Linked DNA regions of Homo sapiens: regions 1 and 2 are each linked to region 3. The links are contacts of gene promoters, found by promoter capture Hi-C in human tissues and cell types (Jung and others, 2019). All regions are on one chromosome and are shown on one strand. The core of a region is centred on a gene start or on the middle of the fragment in contact, and the rest is flanking DNA. Distances in the headings are between cores, read along the strand shown. Region 1 overlaps ZNF302 (zinc finger protein 302). Region 2 holds the start of SLC7A10 (solute carrier family 7 member 10). Region 3 holds the start of LSM14A (LSM14A mRNA processing body assembly factor).

What was found. Contacts are between HindIII fragments. The study calls those that stand out against the background at their distance.
Region 1: a contact is called between a fragment that was not itself captured here and the fragment with the promoter of LSM14A in region 3, in 1 of the 25 tissues and cell types used here (hippocampus).
Region 2: the fragment with the promoter of SLC7A10 here is called in contact with the fragment with the promoter of LSM14A in region 3 in 1 of the 25 tissues and cell types used here (mesenchymal stem cells).

What each region holds. Positions count from the first base shown.
Region 1 is chr19:34,683,545-34,687,426 of GRCh38, forward strand. It overlaps ZNF302 (zinc finger protein 302), which reads left to right. Exons shown (of 5, transcript NM_001289187.2): 5 at 708-2,852. The coding sequence ends at 1,693. Among named protein-coding and RNA genes, the nearest start is that of ZNF302, 7.8 kb to the left of the region's middle. The HindIII fragment of the contact is 3,944 bases long and covers 1-3,825 here.
Region 2 is chr19:33,223,367-33,227,155 of GRCh38, forward strand. It overlaps SLC7A10 (solute carrier family 7 member 10), which reads right to left and starts at 2,484. Exons shown (of 11, transcript NM_019849.3): 1 at 2,187-2,484. The coding sequence starts at 2,337. The HindIII fragment of the contact is 48,714 bases long and covers 1-3,789 here.
Region 3 is chr19:34,171,052-34,174,747 of GRCh38, forward strand. It overlaps LSM14A (LSM14A mRNA processing body assembly factor), which reads left to right and starts at 1,453. Exons shown (of 10, transcript NM_015578.4): 1 at 1,453-1,712. The coding sequence starts at 1,592. The HindIII fragment of the contact is 14,704 bases long and covers 1-3,696 here.

The sequences.
Region 1 (3,882 bases), core at 604-3,103, 510 kb after region 3:
AATAGTTTTAAGCTAAGAAAAGCTGTCAGTTAGATGGAAAATCACTTTTCTAAAGCTGAGCTTTGTAGATGAAATATGAACATATTAGAGGAAGTAAGGGACATATAAATGTTTCTAGGAATAATATTTTCTAATGTTCAAGAAAAATATGATTCACACAGTTTCTTCATAACCTCAGAAAGCCTATATCTTTGTCAGCTATAAAGAGCATTTACTTTGTTTTTACTGCAGTTGTTTAATATAGTAGTATCAATTCTGTATTTTAAGCTTGATAATCCAGCAGCAAATTGAGATTAATGGAAGGTTGGAAAAAAAGGCTATGAAACAAAATGCAACCTTTCCCACATGAATATAGGCACAAAATGATGATTTGTAATCCTGAATGCCTTCCACATCTTATTTCTGATACTTTCCTTTTTTCCATACTATTTTATCCATTTCGTACAGCTTACCCATTTCCTTTATCACACTCTGTTCCTGCTTCTGTGAACTTTGGATTCTCTGCTCTATTTGAGCATTGTTCAGAAGTCACTGAAATATTTGAGTTGTCAGAACTATGTGTTTTCTGGGTGCTTCATTTCTTATCCAATTCTCCTAATTCCACTGTAGAAGCTTTTTTCAAGAAGTAAAAAAAAAAAAAAAAAAAAAAAAAAAAAAAAAAAAAAAAAAAAAAAAAGGCAGTGCTTTGCTTTCTTGATATATTTCAGATTGGGAATCAAGATGGGAAAACAAGGAATTATCAACAAAGAAGGATATTTATGATGAAGATTCACCCCAACCAGTAACAATGGAAAAAGTTGTAAAACAAAGTTATGAATTTTCAAATTCTAATAAGAATTTGGAATATACAGAATGCGACACATTTAGAAGCACCTTTCATTCAAAGTCTACTCTTTCTGAACCACAAAACAATTCTGCTGAAGGGAATTCACACAAATATGATATATTAAAGAAGAATTTATCAAAAAAGTCAGTTATAAAAAGTGAGAGAATAAATGGTGGAAAGAAACTTTTAAATTCTAATAAAAGTGGGGCAGCCTTCAACCAGAGCAAATCTCTTACCCTTCCCCAGACTTGTAATAGAGAGAAAATCTATACATGCAGTGAATGTGGGAAAGCCTTTGGCAAACAGTCAATCCTCAGTCGCCACTGGAGAATTCATACAGGAGAGAAGCCCTATGAATGTCGTGAATGTGGGAAGACTTTTAGCCATGGTTCATCCCTTACACGACATCAGATAAGCCATAGTGGAGAGAAACCTTACAAATGCATTGAATGTGGGAAGGCCTTTAGCCATGGCTCATCACTTACTAACCATCAGAGCACTCACACGGGAGAGAAACCGTATGAATGTATGAACTGTGGAAAGTCTTTTAGTCGTGTGTCCCTTCTCATTCAGCATCTAAGAATTCATACGCAAGAAAAACGCTATGAGTGTCGTATATGTGGAAAGGCCTTCATTCATAGTTCGTCTCTCATTCACCATCAGAAAAGCCATACTGGAGAGAAGCCTTATGAATGTAGAGAATGTGGGAAAGCTTTCTGCTGTAGCTCACACCTTACTCAACATCAAAGAATTCACAGTATGAAGAAAAAATATGAATGCAACAAATGTCTCAAGGTCTTTAGTAGCTTCTCATTTCTTGTTCAACATCAGAGTATTCATACTGAAGAAAAACCGTTTGAAGTTTAGAAATGCAGGAAATCCTTCAACCAGCTTGAATCACTGAATATGCATTTGAGAAATCACATTAGATTGAAACCCTACGAATGCAGTATATGTGGGAAAGCCTTTAGTCATAGGTCGTCCCTGCTTCAACATCACAGTATTCATACTGGAGAGAAACCTTACGAATGTATTAAATGTGGGAAGACCTTCAGCTGTAGTTCAAACCTTACTGTACATCAGAGAATTCATACTGGAGAAAAGCCATATAAATGTAGTGAGTGTGGGAAAGCTTTTAGCAAAGGCTCGAATCTTACTGCCCATCAAAGAGTACATAATGGAGAGAAACCCAATAGTGTGGTAAGTGTGGAAAAGCCTTTAGATCATATGAATCCCTATACATGTGAGAAATCTTACAGAAGAGAAGCAGTGTTTATCACGGTAAACTTCATTCATAGATCCTCCCTTATTTAACATCAGAAAAATGTATACTGGGGAAAAGTTGTATGAAGGTGGTGAACATGGGAGACTTTTAGCAATGATGCAGATTTTTTTATTAGAGTTTATACTGTAGAGAAATCATATGAAGTCAATAAATGTGGGAAAGCCTTTGTCAGTATTAATCCCTTAATTGACCTAAGTATACTCACACTAGGAAAAATCTGTGTACATGTAGCAAATGTGGGAAAGACTATAGGCAATAGGAATCTCCTGCAAACTCCTACAGGAGAAAAGTTGTATGAATGTGGAAACTTTAGAAATTGAAGGAATTTTTCAGTTCCAAGTGCATCCCTTATTCTATAGGAAATAAACTGGAGACAAATCTCATTTAAGAGATGCAGCAAAGTGTTCACTAAGAGTGTTTATCTTGCCAGACATAAGAAGATGAATGGTAGAGCAACCTGAAGGATTTAGAAATTACATATAAATCTTTGCAGTTATGCTATTTGTAAACAGGATTATATAGGAGAGCAAATAAACATAAGTATGCATTTCTTAGAGCAGTAGCTTGCAGTTTCAGTTGAGTTCTACTTAGAAATTCTTTTTAGCTAGTGGGCATGTGAAGATATTTAGTCACCCAGAGGAGCCAGTAAATGTTATAATGTTAAAAATTAAAGCTGCAAAAGAAATAAAATGGTGTTAATAAAAATTTGGCATCTAATAAAATCATTTTGTATATCATGAACTCTTTCTCTGTGACTGTTTGCGACAAAAAAAAATTTCACTAAGATTAGCCTTAGTATAGCCTTTAGCGGGAGACTAGCAAACTTCGAGAAGAATGGCCTGCTCTTTATACTAAGAATAGCAGTATTTTGGTGAGGATTATTGAGTCCATATCCAGTAGGCTTAATTAAATACATTTCAAGAACATTTACTGAGCATTACTCATGTGTATTACACAGGGATGGGATAAAGGAATCTAGTAGTTCTGAGCTCTAGTGCTGTGTCGAAATCACTGGAAGGACGTGTTAAAGCACAGATTGCTAAGCCTCAGTCCTAGAGTTTCTGTATGAGTTGATTTGAATTTGCATTTTTCACACGTTCTTAGGGGACACTAACACTGTTTGTCCAGAATATAATAATAATGTTATGGTGTCACTGACAACATATTGTTTCCTCAATCTTACCTATTAACCATTTCTTGAGCATCTTCTGTGGACTTAAGAAACACTCCATACTCCTTAAGAGCTTCGAGATGTGTGTGTGTGAAGAGCATTAAGCTTTGGAGTCTTGTTACCTGGGTTTAAATCCAAGTTACATGTATACTGGCTTTGTGACCTTGGACAAACTGTTTCACTGGGTCATGCTGCAGTTTCTCCATCTGTAAAATGGTAATAAACCTATTTCACAGCATTATTATGAAAGTTAAATGAGTTAATTGATGCACAATGTTTACAACAATGCCTGGCCTCTCAATAGCATTCAGTAAGTATTAGCTATAGCTATTGATTTCATCATCATCGTCTTCTCATGGTTGCTTCATTATTCTGGTCTCAGATGTCACATCTAATCACTTGCCACTCTTATCTGTTTACTGTTTCACATTTTTGGGGGAGAGCATTTACAAAACACCCCCGTTTCCTTCCAACAAATCCTTTAGTATCTGAGCCATTTTGAGGGAATGTTTCTTGCCCAAAATAACCTAAGGAGAAACAAAGAGACCAGATAGGAGATGAGATGAGAATTCAGCAGGTCTCTGAGAAGGAAGAAGGATG
Region 2 (3,789 bases), core at 1,234-3,733, 950 kb before region 3:
AAGTTCTTGACTTTTAGAGCTAAAATATGACACTTTGCAGACATTTTTGATTCTGACCAGGCTCCCCAGGGTATTGGTGGAGAGAGAGTGAGCCCACCTGGGGCAGAAAGGTGGGGTGGGCTGGGGAGGGGAGACCCTTAGTACATCAGGTGGGGAAGGCAGTGCAGACCCCAGCTCAGTCCTCACCTGCCCAGTCCCCACCTCCTATCACCTTCTGGTTGAGGTTGATCTCCTTGTTTTTTCCTGCCTCGTCCAGCCTCCTGCCTGCTGTAATCCTCAAAGGCTCCCCGGGCCAGGCCAAGATCAAGGCTCCCCAAGACCACCACTGAGTGCCCCGGGCTTGGGTTCTGTAGCTGAATCCAGCATCCTTGGTTAGCTAAGTGGCCCTTCACCCTGGCTCAGTGTTCAAGGTTTGGAGGCCAAGGTAGTGGACCTGGCACAGCAGGAAGGAACTGAAGGGTAGGGGAGCTGTCAGGGCAGACCTGGGCTGCATGGGAAACTTACAGAGTCTGTCCTGGAAAAGGAGGGTGATAGTGGAGTTGGCCTTCTCCACTCCCACCACCACCACCTCTACCATCACCACCACCACCACCACCACCACCACCACCACCACCACCACCACCAGGGCCCCTTTCTGGGGAGAAAGGAGCCAGGCAGCCTCCCTGTGGCCTGGGGAGGATGGGATGTGGGGAGGGGATAGAGTAGGAAGACAGGTCAAGGATGCTGGGCTTAGCTGAGGAGCCCAGGCAGAGCTGTGTCTTTCTGCACCTGCCTGGCACTGTAGCTGGTTCTAGGCATGGTCTCAATCCTATGACCCACTCATGGTGTGAGCTTCCCCTTCCCTGGAGGACAGTTCCTGGAGAGGGTGTGGGCCAAGAAAAAGCTCTAACCAGCACCCTGGCCAAATCCCTGGAACCAGCCCTTCCTTCCAGCAGACCGTCCATCAGGCAGGGGCATCCTAGGCCAAGAAGCTCCCAGGGCCAGGTCAGGACCAGGCTCTGGGAGACAGCATTCTAAGGGGAGGGGGTGAGATGGCGGAGTGACCTGGCCAGGGGCTGTGTTCAGGGGCAACTCTGGATGTGAAGAGCTGCTAATGTGGGGGTGGGAGAGGACGAGGTGAAGACCCTGGGTCTGCCCTACTGAGCCCCCAAACTTTCTCCATCTCCAGGGGTCTGAGGGTGGGAAGGCAGTGAAGACACAAGTGGCTCTCACTGGCAGGGGACCGGGAAGACTGGCTGGCGGTAAGGTGAGAACAGTCGAGGCCCCAGTCACTCACCCCCCAAACCACTTCTCCTGTCCCTCCCTGGAGGGGCTCAGAGGCACTCTGTGTAGACAAAGAAACAAGTCAGTATCCATGACTTGGGACAGAGAGTGGAAAAATACCACTGCCATTCCCATGACCTCTGAGCTCTCTGCCTGCCCAGAAACCCCTATGTGGGGGCAGGACATGGACCCATTCTCAGGTGGGGACTTTGGAGTCCAGGGCCTCCAGACCAGGCGAGTGTCCAGTGCCCACCAGGATCCCAGCTCAGGGAGCAGCTGGCCTTCTGCAGGCTGGGTCTGCCCACTGCTGCCCCCAATTGCTGGCTAACCCGCCCCCTCTCCTGGGTCCTGCTGCCAAACCCTGCAGTCATTGCCTGCTCTGAACCTCCGTCCCTTCTGCGCAGGCTGCGCTTGCTCACTCTGCTCATAGGCCCTCCTGCTTTCCAAGAATAAAGTCACTGCACTGCGTGGCACCTGGACCCTGCACACAGTAGGTACTCAGACTGACCCACAGTACAGAACTTGGGGAGCTCAGCCTGCCGCAGCCTGACCAGCCCCTACACTGGTCAAGTTCCTGCGCTAATCGCAGGACTGCAGTCATGGCCATTTCACAGATGAGGAAACTGAGGGTAACTGCCTTGCAAAAGCCCCGCAGCAAAATCGAGTCAGGAGGAAGAGTCCAGCGGTGGAGGGGACCCAAAACTCCCCCAGGTGCAGGCGGCCGGGAGGTGGGAACACGGAGCTTTGGCACCCTGGGCCAGCAGCCCCTGACCTCCCCGCGGTCATAGCGCTCTCTGAGGCCAGACTGCAGGTTCCCCAGGCAGACCCGTCCGAGCGCCCGGAGAGGGGACGCCCCTCGTTCGGAGCGGCTGCGCCCCTCATTCGGCCTCCGCCCGGCGCCCGCCCGCCTGGGTCCCGCTCACCGATGATGATGGTGCAGGCGCTCAGCAGCCCGATCTCCTTCTTGAGCGCCACCCGCTCCGAGGCGCCGGGGACGGTCCCTGGGACTGGGGAGGGCGAGGGCGCAGGCCTGGGGTTCCCGCGCCCGCTCGGCTGCTGCGTGTGGCCGGCCATGTCGCTGTCCCGCCGCGTCCCCGCTCCCTGCGCTGCCCCGTCTGTCCGGCCGGCCGCCCGTCGGTCCGTCGGTCCGTGAGCTCACGGCCCTCGCAGCCGGGACAGCGCCCACAGGCGGGCGCATGCGCTGGCTCCGGGCCCGGGACTGGGGGCCCCGGGCGGCGGGGGCCCGGGAGGGGCGGAAGGAGGGCCGGCCCACAGCCCCCTCCCCCACCTCCCTTAAAGGGAACGCCCCCTCCCCCAGTCCCGGCCTGGGAAGGAAGGAGAGGACTTGGGGCAGATCTAGGAAGGACTTCCCAGTTGGGCGAAGGAAGGGACCCTCCAGTTGCCTGAGTTACATCCATTCTTGGGGCCGGGTTGGGGAGCAGAGCTCCGAGACAAGACAATCCCTGCTCTCAGGGAGGCCGAGGGGGACGGCAAGAATAACAGCTGGCCGCGTGTGGGGATGCAGTGTGTGCTCCCTTTAGTACTCTATGCCTGCACGATGTGTGTGTGTGTGTGTGTGTGTGTGTGTGTGTGTGTGTGTGTGTAGGAGACAGCTCCCAGGGTGAGTCCATTCTACAGGTGGAAGTTGAAGCCCAGAGATCAGTAGCGATCGCCGAGCAAGTGCAGGGCTGAGACCAAACCCTTTCTCGTGCCTCCTGAGGCTCCCAGGCGGACAACCTCAGGAGGGGTGGGGGTTGAGGTCTGGAACTCCTCTGAGGGGTCTGGGTGTCCTATGCACCCTGGATCAAAGGCCTGAGGGTCGAGGTGAAGATCCCGGGGGCTCTCATCCTCATCACGGGGACCCAAGACCTGTGACGAGTCCTGGACACGGCTCGCCCACCCTACCAGGCTCTGGGCCACCTCTGGCCTGAGATCTTCACTACAGGCTCCTCGTCCCAGGTCAGAGTGAGGGCTCAGCGGACTAGAACTCGGGTCTCTGGTGCAGGTCCCGCGCGATCCAGCCCGGCTCAAGAAGGCCAGGCGACCTGGAATGCCCGGGAGACACGGAGAAGGAGGCTGTGGTCGCGGGAGAGGGTCGGGAGTGCGGGGATCCGAGGGAGGCTGCCTCCTCCCGGAAGCCGTCCGGACTGTGCAGCCGAGGCCGGCGGAAAAGATCCAGGGGGGCCGCGTCGGGGCCACCGGGGCGGCGGGCGGGGCGAGCCTGGCACTGTGCGGCCGGCGGCGGAACAGCCTTTGTTTCTTCCTGGCGGCCGCCGCGACGCGCCGTCCCCTGCATGTGGATGAGGCCTCGCCGGGCGCCCCGTCCTTCCCCCCAGTGGCGGCCTCCGGGTTTGCTGGGGCCCTGCCAGGGGTCCGACGGCTGCAGGGTGGACCGGGGTGGGACGGGGCGGGGGCGGGTCCCTGGCAGGGGCGGGTCCCTGGCAGCGGCAGGGCCTGGAGGTGGGAGCGGGGCGGGGCCGGCGTTTGCAGGCACACAGGAGCTTCGAAGTTGGGGGCGGGGACTTG
Region 3 (3,696 bases), core at 203-2,702:
AAGTACTGGTTGAATTAGACGCGACTGGAACAGAACGAGAAGCTAAATCATGTATATCCTTAGACACCAAAGTCTGGTTTTCTCTCTGTGTAACATGGGATCAGTAGAGTGAGTAGAGGAAGGACATGATCTGAGTTAGATTTTTTTTTTTTTTTTTGAGACGGAGTCTCGCTCTGTCGCCCAGGCTGGAGTGCAGTGGCACAATCTCGGCTCACCACAACCTCCGCCTCCTGGGTTCAAGCAATTCTCCTGCCTCAGCCTCCCAAGTAGCTGAGACTATAGGCGCGCGCCACCACGCCTGGCTAATTTTTTTATATTTTTAGTAGAGACGGGGTTTCACCATGTTGGCCAGGCTGGTCTCGAACTCCTGACCGGTGATGCGCCCGCCTCGGGCCCCCAAAGTACTGGGAGTACAGGCGTGAGCCACTGCGCCCAGCCCTGAGTTAGATTTTAAGAAGATCTCTCTGGCTGCTGTATTGAGAATAAAGTACTGGGGGCAAGAGTTGACACAGAGGCAACTTTTAGAAGGCTACTGCAATAATTCAGCCCGAGTAATCGTGGCTTGTGGGAGAAGTGTAGGAATGGAGATGAGAAGTCAGATTTAGGATATATTGTGTATACATAACGGAGAGGTGTAGTCAGAACAGATGTGGAAGCAAGACAGGGCAAGGCTGACTCACGGCTTTTAGTCTGAGCAGCTGAGTAAAAATGGTACCGTTTACATCAAATAGGGAACGGTGGTGAAGGAGCAGGTTAGAGGGGAAACAGGGAGCATGGCTTTGGACCCTTAACGTTTGAGATTCGACAGAAACCCTGGTTCACGGAATTGATCCAAGCTACATACTGATAATTGGGATTAGTGAGTTACAATGGCGTTGCAAGCCATGAAACTGGTTCAGACCGGCTGAATGAGCGGGACAGGAAGGGGCTGAAACACTTGAGTCCTTGTGAGAGCCCCAGCTCCAGGGGCAGCCTCGGGGGAAGCTCCCCGGGCGATGACTGCGGTAATGGAGCCGTAGGAGCTCCACGAGGTGCAGGTTCAGCGTCTTAGAAGGATGAGCAGCGGCTCGCCACAGCTCGGAGGCGGGTGGGCAGCGCTCCAGGCCGAGGGCCCCGCGTCGGCAAAGACACAGGACCCACGACAAGGCGGCCACGGCCTGAGTCAAAAGGAAGGCCGCGCGCCTCCTCTCCAGCCCGCAGCAAGCGGGTGCCACGAGGCACTCAGCCGGTCCCCGAAGTTCCTCTCACGCGGCCCCAAGACCACCACCGTAGTCCAGGCCAACAAGCGCTGCCGGGACTCCCGAGGCCACGAATGAGCCGGGAGCCACCAGTAGCCGGCCAAGTCTCGCGAGAGCGCGGCCTCGCCCTCCCAGCATGCCCCGCGCCGCCGCCGCTGCCGCCGCCGCCGCCGCCGCCGCGCCGCGGCTTGAGGGCGGGAGGCTGGGGGAGGGTAGCGGAGCCGGCGCCGCCGCCATGTTGGGTCTGAAGCGGCTGCTGTAGGCGCCGACGGAGCGAGCGGGCGTGCGGAGCGGGCGACAGTGGCGTGGGATCTGCCTCTCTGCGAGCAGCTGGGAGCGGCGGCGGCGGCGCCATGAGCGGGGGCACCCCTTACATCGGCAGCAAGATCAGCCTCATCTCCAAGGCGGAGATCCGCTACGAGGGCATCCTCTACACCATCGACACCGAAAACTCCACCGTAGCCCTTGCCAAAGGTACGCGGGACCGGGCCTCAGGGTGGGGGCCGAGCCGGGCGCCGCTCGGGGCTGCTCCCCGCTCCGGCCCGCGGCCTCCTCGTTCCCTCCCCTCCCTCCGTCGAGCTCCGGGAGGCCTCTCGCCTCCCTTCTCCGGGCCCCGGCGTCGCGGGCCGGACCGCGGCCTCCCCGCGGCTCCCTGGTTTCCGCCCCCCGGAATGTCCGCGCCTGAAGCCCGGGGAACTACGGGACTGAGTGCGCGGCGGGCGGCCCTGAAGTCCGAGAACGGGCCGGAGAACACGGAGAAACGCGTCTTCCAACTCCGAAATTCGGGGCTTCTGCCGTCTTAGCACAAAACAAAGCCGGAGTATTCAAAGAATTTTTCCGCCCAGCTTGAGTTCATCGCGGATGCGTTGACTACACAGCACCCATTTTCTCACTTTGTTCATTTCAATTCGTGGCGATCTTCCTCTGGTGAACTCTTGAGTAATGTGCTAAAACTTTGGGTTTGCTCTGCGACGCAGACATTCTCGAAATGCCATCGATGCCGTGGAGCAGATCCCATCTCCCTCGGCTCATCCTCTGTTGGTATTTACCTGTTAAACCGGAATCCTCAAAGCCTGTTGTGCAACCACCTCATTAGGGCGCGTGGTAAAAATGCTTGCTGCTGCCCCGACGCCCCTGTTTCTGGAAACGGGTTCAAGCTTGATCCAGGATCCTTCTTGACCAGGCAAGCTTGACCTTTGATCCAGGCTCAGTGGGCGTTGACTGATCCCTCTGGAGGCTCTCTGGGAAAGGGAATTCGGCCGAGAAGGAAGGTGCCCCTACCCACAGTGTTAATATTTGGCATCCCTAGAGTCTGTGTGGGTTTTGTTTCCGTTCACACGTGCAGGGCCTTTGCTCCGCCAGGAAACCAGAAAGAAAATAAACTTTAGCTCCTGAATCTTAAAGGAAATCTCACAACAGTGTAAAATACTTTGAGGGAAGCTAGATAACCTAGGTGATTTTCCCAGCACTTCTGGTAGAGGTGGGAACTGCATAGCATGGTTAGGGACCCTGTGGATAGGTTAGGTCCAAGGATAAAGAAGAAGATTTTCGAAATCTGTAAAATTTTAAAAATCGTTAACAGATAGGGGAGTGGTTTCACGGGATCAAGTATTTAATAATATTTCTTGGATGCTCTGGTAAATCCTTTATTTATTTATTTATTTATTTATTTTTCTAAGATGGAGTTTAGCTCTTTTTGCTCAGGCTGGAGTGCAAAGGCAATGATTTCGGCTCACTGCAACGTCCGCCTCCCGGGTTCAAGTGATTCTCCTGCCTCAGCCTCCCAAGTAGCTGGGATTATAGGCGCCTGCCACCACCCCTAGCTAATTTGGTATTTTTAGTAGAGACGGGGTTTCACCATGTTGGCCAGGCTGGTCTCGAACTCCTGACCTCAGGTGATCCACCCGCCTCGGCCACCCAAAGTGCTGGGATTACAGGCATGAGCCACCGCGCCCAGCCTCTGGTAAATCTTTTTAATAGCCCTGGTGTTGGGACAAATCTTATACCTGGGTAGGGAACCTTTTGATGTTACAGAACTGTACACCATAAAGGAGTAGTATGAGATGGTGATAGTTGCACAACTCTGCAAATTTGCTGAAGATCATTGAATTATACACTTTTTAAAATCACCAAGTCTAATTTTAAAAGTAGTATGAAAAACCAGGGAGTACCCCCACATTTCCCTCTTCACCTTGTGAAACATTATGCAGTGACACATTACCTCATTAAAACACCTGTAGACTTGGCGGTTAGAAATCGGCTATAGGATGTATGATGGATGGTATTTGGTGTTTATTAAAGACTTTCCCAGTGATGCTTCTTAAGTAACTTAGTTTTTGCTTGGCCTTATTTTGAATTTATTTTTATATTTTTTATACAATAGTTACTTAGCTGTATAGTGTTTTTCTGGCTTTTTGAAATTATGAAAAAGCCTCTCTTTATGAAATTATGAAAAGTG